Linked DNA regions of Homo sapiens: region 2 is linked to region 1. The links are contacts of gene promoters, found by promoter capture Hi-C in blood cells and fetal thymus (Javierre and others, 2016). All regions are on one chromosome and are shown on one strand. Each heading gives the region's core, a stretch centred on a gene start or on the middle of the fragment in contact. The rest is flanking DNA. Distances are from core to core; before and after follow the strand shown. Region 1 holds the start of ABHD12B (abhydrolase domain containing 12B). Region 2 overlaps NIN (ninein).

Region 1 (5,488 bases), core at 471-2,970:
GCTCTCCTCCCCATCTTTGATCCCTCCATCTCCACTTGGCATGGCCCCAGAGTCCCATCCAGAGCTTCCCTGAACAAGTTCTGGGAGATTCCAGACCACGTTTATGAAGAACTCCAAGGGTAGAGCCGACATCTGCTTGAAGCTTTCTCATCATGCAGGTTGTGGCTCTGTGAAAACCCACCTGCTGCTGGCTCATCAGTCAGGCTTGGATCCCATTGGTCCTTTCTGAGCTAATTCCTCTTCTATCTTGATGTGTGTGAATCAGAAACTGAACATTCCAGCCAGGTGTGGTGACAGAGACCTGTAATCCCAGCACTTTGGGAGGCCGAAGTGGGAGAATTGCTTGAGGCCAGGAGTTTGATAGCAGCCTGGGCAACATAGTGAGATCTCATCTCTATACACACAAGCGTGCGTGCGCGCGCGCACCAGGCATAGTGGTGCATGCTTGTAGTCCCAGCTACTTGGGAGGCTGGAGTGGAAGGATTGCTTGAGTCCAGGAGTTCAAGTGAGTTCAAGTACAGTGAGCTATGATTGCACCACTGCACTCCAGCCTCAGTGACAGGGTAAGACCATGACAAGAAAGAAAGAAAGAAAGAAAGAAAGAAAGAAAGAAAGAAAGAAAGAAAGAAAGAAAGAAAGAAAGAAAGAAAGAGAAAGAAAGAAAGAAAGAAAGAAAGAAAGAAAGAAAGAAAGAAAGGAAGGAAGGAAAGAGAAAGAAACAAAGAAAACAAACATTCCCAGAGCAAGTATAAGAGTATTAACAGGCAGTGAACAAAATCCCCCTTTGCCCTGACAGTTCCATGAAATGAGCTAGTACTCAAAGAAAACTTCCCTTTCTTGAAAAGTGTGGGTATTTTCCCCCAGACCATCTTACTATCCTCAAGCAGATGGGTTTCCACGCACTTTCTGGTGCTGACAGCCCCCTGCTGTGCCCTCTGAACACAGACACTACAAAAAACCCATTTCACCTCTTAAGATTTGCACCTTGCCTCCAAGATGAAGCCTTGATGCTGGCATCCGAATGTATCCAAATAAAACCTAATTCCCTTTCTTCCTCCTTTGTCCCCACACATGCAGGCCGTGGCTTCCCTAGAGTAGCTCTGGTAGACAGTTCCTGCTCCTAGGAGACAGTTGCACAATGTAAACCTGCACCAAGATGTAAACCTGTACCAAGGTCAAAGTTTCAAGGTGTGAACTCCTTGGTACAATGATGAGGTTCTGCTACATGCTGCTACGTAAACAAAATACCGAAAAGGTCTTAATTTTTTGCTACATGGAGTAATTGTGTTCATAACCCCACGTGGACAGACAAATCATTAGTAAATCAAAGGGAGCCAAAGAAATTCTTTCTATAGTAAGGGTGACAGGGTGGGGGGCTGTGAGGATTTTGGGGGTGGATGGGGAATTGGAGACAAGGAGGCTTCAGAAAAAGAGAAAAAGAAAAAAGTGAGGTTTAAGTAGAGGAAAGCTTATATTCTTCATGAAAATCAAAAGCTGTGGCGGTCAAACTTTTGTGTTAGTAGTACCATGGTGAAAACATATTTTACTGCGTTGCGCGCGCCTCACACCCACACACACACAGAAGTATAATGGAAATCAATTTAAAATAAAATGTAGCATAGCTAGCTATAAGCTTAGGACATCTGTGTGTGTGTGTGTGGCCGCGAACAGCCTGACCCGGGCGGAGCGCACCCTCGGGCCGCGTCTCCCCCGCCGTACCAGCCTGCCTGACCGCGCGGAGGAGGAGGGCGGGCGCGGTGCCGCCGGGGCGGGAAGGTCGCGGGCGGCTGCTCCGGACTGCAGCTCCCGCGGCGGTGGCGGCGTATCGGGACACGGCGCGGGATGGACGCGCAGGACTGCCAGGCGGCCGCATCGCCCGAGCCGCCCGGGCCCCCAGCCCGTAGCTGCGTGGCCGCCTGGTGGGACATGGTCGACCGCAACCTGCGGTGAGTACCGCCCGGTCCACCCCTGGCCGGGCCCCGACGGCTCAGGCTGCGCGGGGATGGGGCAGGGGGCCAGGGCGCGGCCGAGGCCGCAATCCCCTCTGCTGGCCCGGGCCCAAGGCCCAGCATTGTGGCTTCCGGGGGACCTCGGCGGCCCCCTGAGAACTCTAGGGCTCTTTGGTTGCCCTTGCTATCCTCAGCCTCAATCCCAACCTGGACCAGCGAGACTCTCAGGTTTGGTATTTCAGGAAGTTATAACTTTTGGGGGCTTCTGAAATACAGATGCCAGGGAGATGGTTGAATTCCTACACCAATCTCTATTATCTGACCATTTTGCTAACATACAAGATGGATCTGAATGACATTAGTAATAGTGACAATAGTAATATATGTTGTAATCTTGGACGGGATCCTCTTAGGTCAAGGGCCTATCTGTGTAGGTGGAAAAGAATCAGAAAATCCGTGCCTAGTTCCCTGAGTGTGAACTCCCTGGCATGTATTTAAAGAAAACACCTCCAGTATGCTAAAGATGTACATAGTGTGTTGAAACCATAACTTGGCATTACCTGTGCCAAGTTCTTATGTTGTTTAAGTCTGAAATGTATCAGTGGGTGTTTCGGGTTTTGTTTCTGTTTTCTTCCTCCCATGGATCCTCGGTTTAAACAGTAATCTTAAATTACCTGAATCCACCTGCAACATATTGTCAGTCTTGTTTGCACTGAAGCCAGGTATTGGTTGGAGATCGTGGACCCAGGACACGTGGGTATTTCATTTAGTTTTGTTGGTGTGGGAAGGTATTGGCATTTTTACTTCCCTCTTTCTATTCCTTTTGTTTAATTTGTGCTGATTAGAAAATATCCAAAAATTACATCCAGACACAGGAGACCTCACTTTGGAGTGCCCAGAGTGATGATGACAAACGGGGATCTTTTCTCTCTCTCTCTCTCTTTTTTTTTTCTTTTTTGAGACAAGGGTTTCACTCTGTTGCCCAGGCTGGAGTGCAGTGGCACAATCTTGGCTCATTCCCAGGGCTCCAGCGATCCTCCCGTCTCAGCCTCCCCAGTAGCTGGGACTACAGGCACCTGCCACCACACTGAGCTGATTTTTGTATTTTGTGTAGATATGGGTTTTCACTACATTGTTCAGGTTGGTCTCAAACTCCTGGAGCTCACAGATTCCACCTGCCTTGGCACCCCAAAGTGTTGGGATTACAGGTGTGAGCCACTGCACCTGGTCTCTTTTCTCTTCTATTCCTTTTTATTCTCATTGCAGACAGCAGAGTGCTGGCAGCTCTGCAGGGGCCCAGTCACCTAGAACCCATGCCTCCCAGCTCTGGGTTGGATCTGAACACGTGGCAGAATGTCCTGATTGCACTTGTCAAACTGCATATTAACAGGACTTCTCTCCCAGATGTGGTGATTCTGGGAACGTTGACATCTAATGTTTTTCACTTTGATGGTCTCTGTGGAATTGATGGCTGATTATTTAACATTTATTTGGCAGTAAAGGGCATTTATTAGGCAGAGAATCAAAGTTGCACATCATACTCATAGAGAATAACCCACTTTGTTGATAATGGAGTGGGAGATAGGGAGTTGGGGACCATCTATTACTTGCCTTACTAATTAGTGAAAAAAGTCTCAAGAGACACTTCCTGAAAGAACAAAATACTAGCGTATGTCTTCATCTGAGCAGAAGATTATTGGCTACCATAAGATGTGCTGAGGCTGAGGCCCAGACCCATTTCCACTATCCCAAGTCCTCTTTGATTCTTGGAGCCGGGTTCACTTAGGTGAGCAAACCTTCATGGAGGGCTTGCCATGCCCCTGGCCCTGATCATGGCACTGGAACTAGTGGGATGTGTTGTGAGACCCAAGAACATTTCATCATATGATTTTTTCAGTGGCTATTTTTTAATGCCTTGGGAATCTAGTTATTTATTTTACAAAAATTTTTATCAAATCCAGTTGCTGCTTAAGGTGGGTGGGCCAAGGAGAGTAAGTCTCCACTTTACAACTGGTTTTCTTTAAATTAGAAAAATGAGGCCAGGCATTGTGGCTCACATCTGTAATCCCAGCACTTTGGGAAGCCAAGGCGGGCAGATCATGAGGTCAGGAGATGGAGACCATCCTGGCTAACACAGTGAAACCCTGTCTCTACTAAAAATACAAAAAATTAGCCAGGCGTGGTGGCACATGCCCGTAGTCCCAGCTACTCCGGAGGCTGAGGCAGGAGAATTGCTTGAACCTGGGAGGCGGAGGTTGGAGTGAGCCGAGATCGCACCACTGCACTCCAGCCTGGGTGACAGAGCGAGACTCCGTCTCAAAAAAAAATAATAATAAAAAAAGAAAAATGGAAAATGTGCTCCAGAAGGAAGTTGGGGGAAACCAAAGGTTTATTTTCCTCCTCATTTCCCCCATTCCACCCCAAGTCATTACAATCCTAGATAGTGCTCAGAAAATGTGCAGGAGTAGGCTGATAAATGTGTTCATTCTTTCCACAGCGTTGGTTCTTTATTATCTATTGGATAGTATTCTAGTCTTGGTCACACAGCAGTAAATAAAACAGACAAAATCCTTGCTCTGTGGAGCACACATTGATTCATTTGCAATTGTAAGTAAAAAAAAGAAAATGAAGTCCTTCCTCTTTCCTCTGAAGCTACCAATAAATGTTGCTTCCTTCTCCCTTACAAAATAAATGCACTCTCTTTCTATTTTCAACCTATGCGTCAATATTTACTGAGCTCAGCCCTGGGCTAGACAGAGGGAAATGTAAAGGAAGCATTCTATGCCATGTTGTTCTTGTTGTCTGTGGCCTGATAGAGTGGAGAAGACAGGGCTAATAATGGGAAAGCCATCACAGAACAATTCAAGGCCAGCTGAGGCCCCGTTATTATTTGTGGGAGGAAAGACAAGAGAGGAGAGGTCACCATGGAATGATCTCTCCAGGAGACTTTGACAAAAAAGAGATACTTCCATGGGTGTGAAGGAAGAGGGGATTTGGTTGGGAGGATGTCTCCCGGTGCTTGGTGACAAACACATGTCGACTGAGTGAATTGGCACACAGGTTGAAGGTACCTGTCTTAATATTTGAAATAGTAAATGTAGTTAGATTTGGGCTTCCCAAAGTTGGTTTGCAGAAACCTCTGAGCATGAGTGATTCACCCTGTAGCAGCTCAGACTCCACCAGCTTTCACCAGTAAGAATCATCCAGTTAGGTTCTGAGTCCCCTGTGGGACGCTGTGTGGTTACAGCTGCAGCTGATCAAAGGGCAAGTGAAAGAACACCAAAGCACCAAGGTGGCCGTTTGATGTGGCTGGCCGTTAGCGGGGATTGGGCTGAAACTGCATCCTCTGCTCAAATAAGGTCTATTAGCCACTGGTGACTTTTGATCCCTTACTGATCTAGGGGAAGTCAAATTGACAACCCCTTAGTTAAAAGAAGCTGCTTTGCATTATTGATGCTCTGAGGATCTGGTCACTCTGTTCTCTTCCCGCAGTGCATCTCAGAAAAGTGCCTCGAGCTATTTGAGAGAAGGACTGTGTA
Region 2 (5,460 bases), core at 1,372-3,871, 150 kb before region 1:
AACCTGAGCCTCTAGTCCCAAGTTCCCGACCTAGCTGGCAGTGTGGCCTTGAGTTTGCTAAGCTTCCATTTTCTCATCCATAAAATGGGAATAATGGTAGTTCCTGCCACATAAAGGCAGTATGAGGTTGGTATAAAAGCTTTGAAATGAAATAAAACAGGCTTGTGAGATGGGTCAGTTTGGCCAACATTTCCAATTCTACATTTCAGTGTTCAGCATATTAACATGGTTTTAGGTTGTTTTTGTGTTTCCAACTGCATATATCTCATCATTCATGAGCTGCTCAATTAAGAAAGTCTGAGCCACCCCTAAAGATGGCAACATGAAATAAAGCCATCTTTGAAGCACCCAAAATCACAAACAGGGCCTTGCCCAAGGTTAAGTCATGATTCTGCAGGTAAACTATGCACTGCCACAGTATACGGGGACCCCAAACTGGCTGGTGTAAAAGTCATCCTTCTATAATAGAAATGGAGTCCCAATGCTCTAAATCCTATACAAATCACTTGGGGAATCTCTTTAAAATGAAGATTCTGATTTAGTAGGTCTGGAGTGCGGGCTGAGATTCTGCATTTGTAGAATGTGTTTAGTGAAATATTTTGATGCTACCATTCTAAAGACCAATGATAAATACACTGAAACTTTATTAAAAGGTCAGGGTATATAGAAAACAAAAGGCATGTTTGCAAAATTATTTATTTACATCTTAAGCTCACATTAAAATCTTTCTAGGATAGAATGGCTAAGATGAAATATACAAAGCTGATATAAACACAGAACTCATTAATCTTTATCTGAACAGAAACATAGAGATGGCTTTAGATAATCTGTTTTTCCTTCACAAACCAATGTTCCCTTAAGTCATGCCATGATAATGTCTCCCCATTAAGAACTTAACTTGTATTGCCCAAAAAAGCTGAGAAGCAAAAAGCTAACTTTGATTTGTTAAACAGCTATTCATATGCCACAAAACCAAAACTATTTTACAGTGCTGAGAGGTCCAGATAGGTCCAAACATGATGATTTTTAAATGAGTGCTTTGGTTAATTAGGCTTTGACTTGGTTTTTGGCATTACTTGTATAATTATATCATTCCAATGAGTCACTACAGGTAATCCATTCAAAACATGACTTGCTTAATACTATCACAAAGCACTTAGCCTTGCCTTGACTGGAAATACCTTTAAGATGCTGACAATAGCAACAATTTCTCCTTTCCTTCACTCAGCAAAAGAAATCACATAAATCACAAAATAAAAAATTCATTTCTCACATGTTAAAAAAGCAAAGTCTGCCATAAACCCTTAGAGAAGAAACAGTTTCTCATAATATCTGCCCTGGGTAATAGTGCATTATTAAAATACTAGACCTGCAAGATCTCTTCCTATGCCTTGGAAGCCTATGACTTCATGATCTATTCATGAAAAATATGCCGAAGGCTAAATATGCAATGCATTGAAATTTCTGGGAAGAATTCACATTTAAAACAGTTTAAAAAATCTGGATTTAGTAAGAGTTTTAGAAAAATAAATAAAACACTGTGGTTCTACTTCTCCCCTTCTACTCTCCCTTCACAAATCTAAGCTTAAGTGCAGGCTTCTAAAAAGCAGAAGAGAGTACAATAGGATGAGAGAGGTGGGTTTTACTATCCACATTTTCCTTTTCTTAGTGTAACGTATTATCTCAAAGGCAAACTTGATTCCCTTTTCTTGAAACGAAGATCCCATCTTCTGAGACGATCTTAAATAATTGTTCTTAAATCAAAAAGTTTGAAAATCAGTGCTTTTAATAAGCAACTAAATGCCTATAAAATATATAACTTAATATTTTGAAGAATGCTATTGTAAAGTTTGAAACAAGATCTAAACATTTTTAAGTTTACATTTAATGTCTTTAAAAGGTCTTTTAAAAGCTATAAGTTCTATTATAAATTGCCAACTAAATTATAAATTGCCACTCACCTTCTCAAAAATTGTTGCACAAATGCATACATTTAAGGTATCTGTATGGTATTTCTCATATTGATCTTTTTCCCAATCTCATAAGTGGGATAAAATGAGAAATTAAGCACCTAGATGTTGGTTAAATTCATTTGAGCAGCATTTTGATTTTGAATAGAGATTCTAAATGTAGTCTAAACTTTCCAGAAAGTCATATTTACATTCATTGTACATTTTATATACACATAAATACAAATTTATAGGAAATAAACAAATTAACCTACACCTCTCATACTGTAAAAGACAAAAATTAAAAATACAACAACCGTGATCACATGCTAAGGCCAGCTATCTGGGAAATATTATTGTTCAGTTCCAACAGCAATAACTTTGAGTAACTTGACACATATCACATAAATACACTACAGGTACTTAGTTTATTTTTGTCCTTAGCCTAGGCCAATCCACAGTTTTAAGTGAAACAATTTTCTGTGAAAGCTAATGCCATACAAGTAGTCAAACACTTACTAGAAATGTCTGCACCACAGAAGAAAGATCTAAAGAAGGCATAATAGCAGATGTCAAATATTTTGAAGTATAATTATAGGGAAGGATTAAAATTAACTCTTTATCCAGGGGGAACTCAGGGCTTTCTGACAAGAGCTGTGCAAAAATTCAAAGGTTTGCTTCATCAGTGTGAACTCCCAGTCCCACAAAAAACAGTGCCTTGTCAAGGCTCTTGTAGTGAGGCCTCCTGGGTTGACCGGTGAGACTCATAAGCCCCCAAGAAACCCTGAAGTTCCCTGATGGAAATTATTTTGTTGAGATTGAGTTTCTGACATGATGACTTCTTGGGCAGTTTGCTTTCTCTTGTGTTCCTGCCCATAAAGCAGTGCTTGATTTTGCTGTTCACCTTTTGTAAATAGATGGGCTTGGCCCTCCAGGAATATATCAAAGCGAACTTTTCGGATTATTGTCTCATGAAAACAAGCAGGTTGTTGTGATGAACTTGGAAAGTGCCCTGCACCTAGTAAGTCTTCCACCAACTGCTGGCGGAAGTGGCTAGCAGAGATTATAATTGGAAGAAAAAAAAGGTTACCGAATCTAAAATGTTGACTGTTCTATAAAGTTTTGATCTTGAGCATGAGTGGAAAGTCCTATTTGGCACTCCTTGACCTCAGGTGGCATGCCAATGATTATCACAGTAAGAAATTCTTAGAATCAGATTTGAGGTATAGAAGGAATAAGAAACACAGAAAATTTTGACCTATATTAAATAAACTCTTCTATAAGTCAGGTTTTTAACCCTAAAATCAAGGCCTTTTTTCCCCCAGAATATTAAATTTACTAAAAACGTAGAAATAAAAATTCTAGTATGGCTGTAAATATATAAGACAAATAAATGAGGTCACATGGTTTATACATTTCAAATTCTTAGAGAGGCCCTACAGTAGTTCAGGAAGACAGTTTACAGTATTGTTCCCTGAGTTCTTGAGGCAACCTCAAGTAAATTTATGAACTCTAAGATTTGAGAGACAGAAAACCTACATGGTCTGCTTATCCCTCTTTTCTAAGAGTAGCTATTTACTCCAAAGTGGTTTGTTCAGTGCTTTCCCTATAGTTCAACTGCTTTAATTATGTGGCTTTATCCGTTTCTTAGAAGACCAGCTCCCCAAATGAAACTTTTAAGAGAAAGAAGAAAAGGCTGTTTAAAGCAAGTAAGCTTTTAACATTAGTTAAGAGTGCAATTGAGTAAATCAGTTCTAAATCTATAATACAAGAAGAGTGGTAATACTGTCACAGGTGTTAGAAGGTTAGAATTCTACAGATTTGGGTTTGTCTGATGTCAGCGGTTAATAACCACTTAATAAGCCCTGCCTCCTAACCAATTATACTCTACTAATTGTCTACCAATTCAAAGAACCAAAACTATTATAATGACTTTCCAGTATTTAAATATGTAAGAACACCTAAATTTGGTTTTAAAATAAAGTTTATAACAACCATTCTCATCAGATCTCAAACTTCAAATATCTAGATTTTACACATAGATTTGTAATAATTAAAAAAAAAACCAAAACCACAAAAACTCATTCAAAACTGGTATTTTTTAGGTTCTTGAATTTTCATATGTCCACATTCTTGGTGGCTATTAAAATTTTAAAATAAATTCAAATCTTGGGAATAATTTAAGTAGTGAAATATGTGAGTATTTATTTTCAAACTCCCATAAGGGTCTATTTAGAAAAACTAATTATGATAAATGGAAACTCCAGTTGTGTTGCTGGCAGTTTTAGGTTAGGCTTAATTTTAAGTTGAGAACCTACTGAAATGTTCATCTATTTCAGTAAAGTGCACAAATATGAGTGTACCCTTTGGTTTGGCTATGACCTCAAAGGAGGTGTAGAAGTCAATGGCGCTGGTGTCAGATTCCTAACTATATTACTGAGGCTGGCAATCTTCTCCTCCAGGAGGTAATTTTTCTTCTCTGCTGTTTTCTGTCGCTGTTCAGTCACTTCCAGAGCTTTCAACAACTGGGCATTTTCAACATACAAGTCCTTCACCATTGCGTCTGCCTTAGTGTTCTTGCAGAGCTAGAAACAGAACCAGAAACATCTTGACTCCATTTCTGTAACTCTTCTTAAACCTTCAGTTTAAGGTCTGACATAAGGACAGTTGTTTTATAAAGGCAAATCACTTCGTCTAATTATATTCTTTTATTTTACAAAATAGCTTTAACATCAGACTTGGCATCAGGGACACCATTGGAACAAATCTACTTTTTCTAAGCTATTTCTTTGCATGAGATGTTTATGTCAGTTACTAATAGAACAGATTGATATTAGATGGCACCAAAAGTTTTTTTTCTACCTAAATAGGCATTATTTCTGTATTTATTCTTTAAAAATATCAAATACTTTTATAACTTAAATTCCTGAGGTGTCAGGTGTGGACTGTTTAACTCTGCTTGTAACAACAGATACTTGAACTTACCATTCGTAACTACAACCCACTGATTATTTTAAAATTTAGCTCATGTATTATAACAGAGATAAGATTTGGGCAGTTACTTCTCCTGAATTGTCTTTGTTTTTGTTTTGTTTTGCATGGGGCCTTGTCTAGTCTAATCTTTATAGTTAGAATATATGGTCTAGGTTGGGGTGGGAAAACTTGTTAGCAGCCTTGGGATACTTTCATTGTTGTTCTGGTTAATATTTTCCAGTCCCCCTTCCCATGTTACAAGTGTTCATTTTACACCCAATTTCAAGTAGGGCATCTAAAAGTATAAAGGTTTATGAGAATAAAGAGTAACTAAAGAGTAGCTTAACAACCTATTAGCATTTCAAAGGGCAGGGATAAGGATGACAGCACTCTCAAGCTCAGAACCTAGATGACTGGCAGACATCACATAACATTTCAGAACATATTTTCTGTTGAACTTCCTGAATACAACTTTTTTTCCTCCCTCCCTCTCTTCCTTTCCTTAAAAAAACACTTTGATGGTTCTTCATTGCCGACA

The links. The method cuts DNA at HindIII sites, captures the fragments that hold promoters and counts their contacts. A CHiCAGO score of 5 or more calls a contact.
Region 2: a contact is called between a fragment that was not itself captured here and the fragment with the promoter of ABHD12B in region 1, in 1 of 17 cell types (neutrophils). The highest score is 5.1, in neutrophils.

Annotation. Positions count from the first base shown.
Region 1 is chr14:50,870,333-50,875,820 of GRCh38, forward strand. ABHD12B (abhydrolase domain containing 12B) reads left to right here and starts at 1,721. Exons shown (of 13, transcript NM_001206673.2): 1 at 1,721-1,946. The coding sequence starts at 1,843. RefSeq lists a silencer at 5,204-5,253. The HindIII fragment of the contact is 8,761 bases long and covers 1,632-5,488 here.
Region 2 is chr14:50,719,139-50,724,598 of GRCh38, forward strand. It overlaps NIN (ninein), which reads right to left. Exons shown (of 31, transcript NM_020921.4): 31 at 625-4,534. The coding sequence ends at 4,325. Among named protein-coding and RNA genes, the nearest start is that of SAV1, 54 kb to the left of the region's middle. The HindIII fragment of the contact is 2,079 bases long and covers 1,583-3,661 here.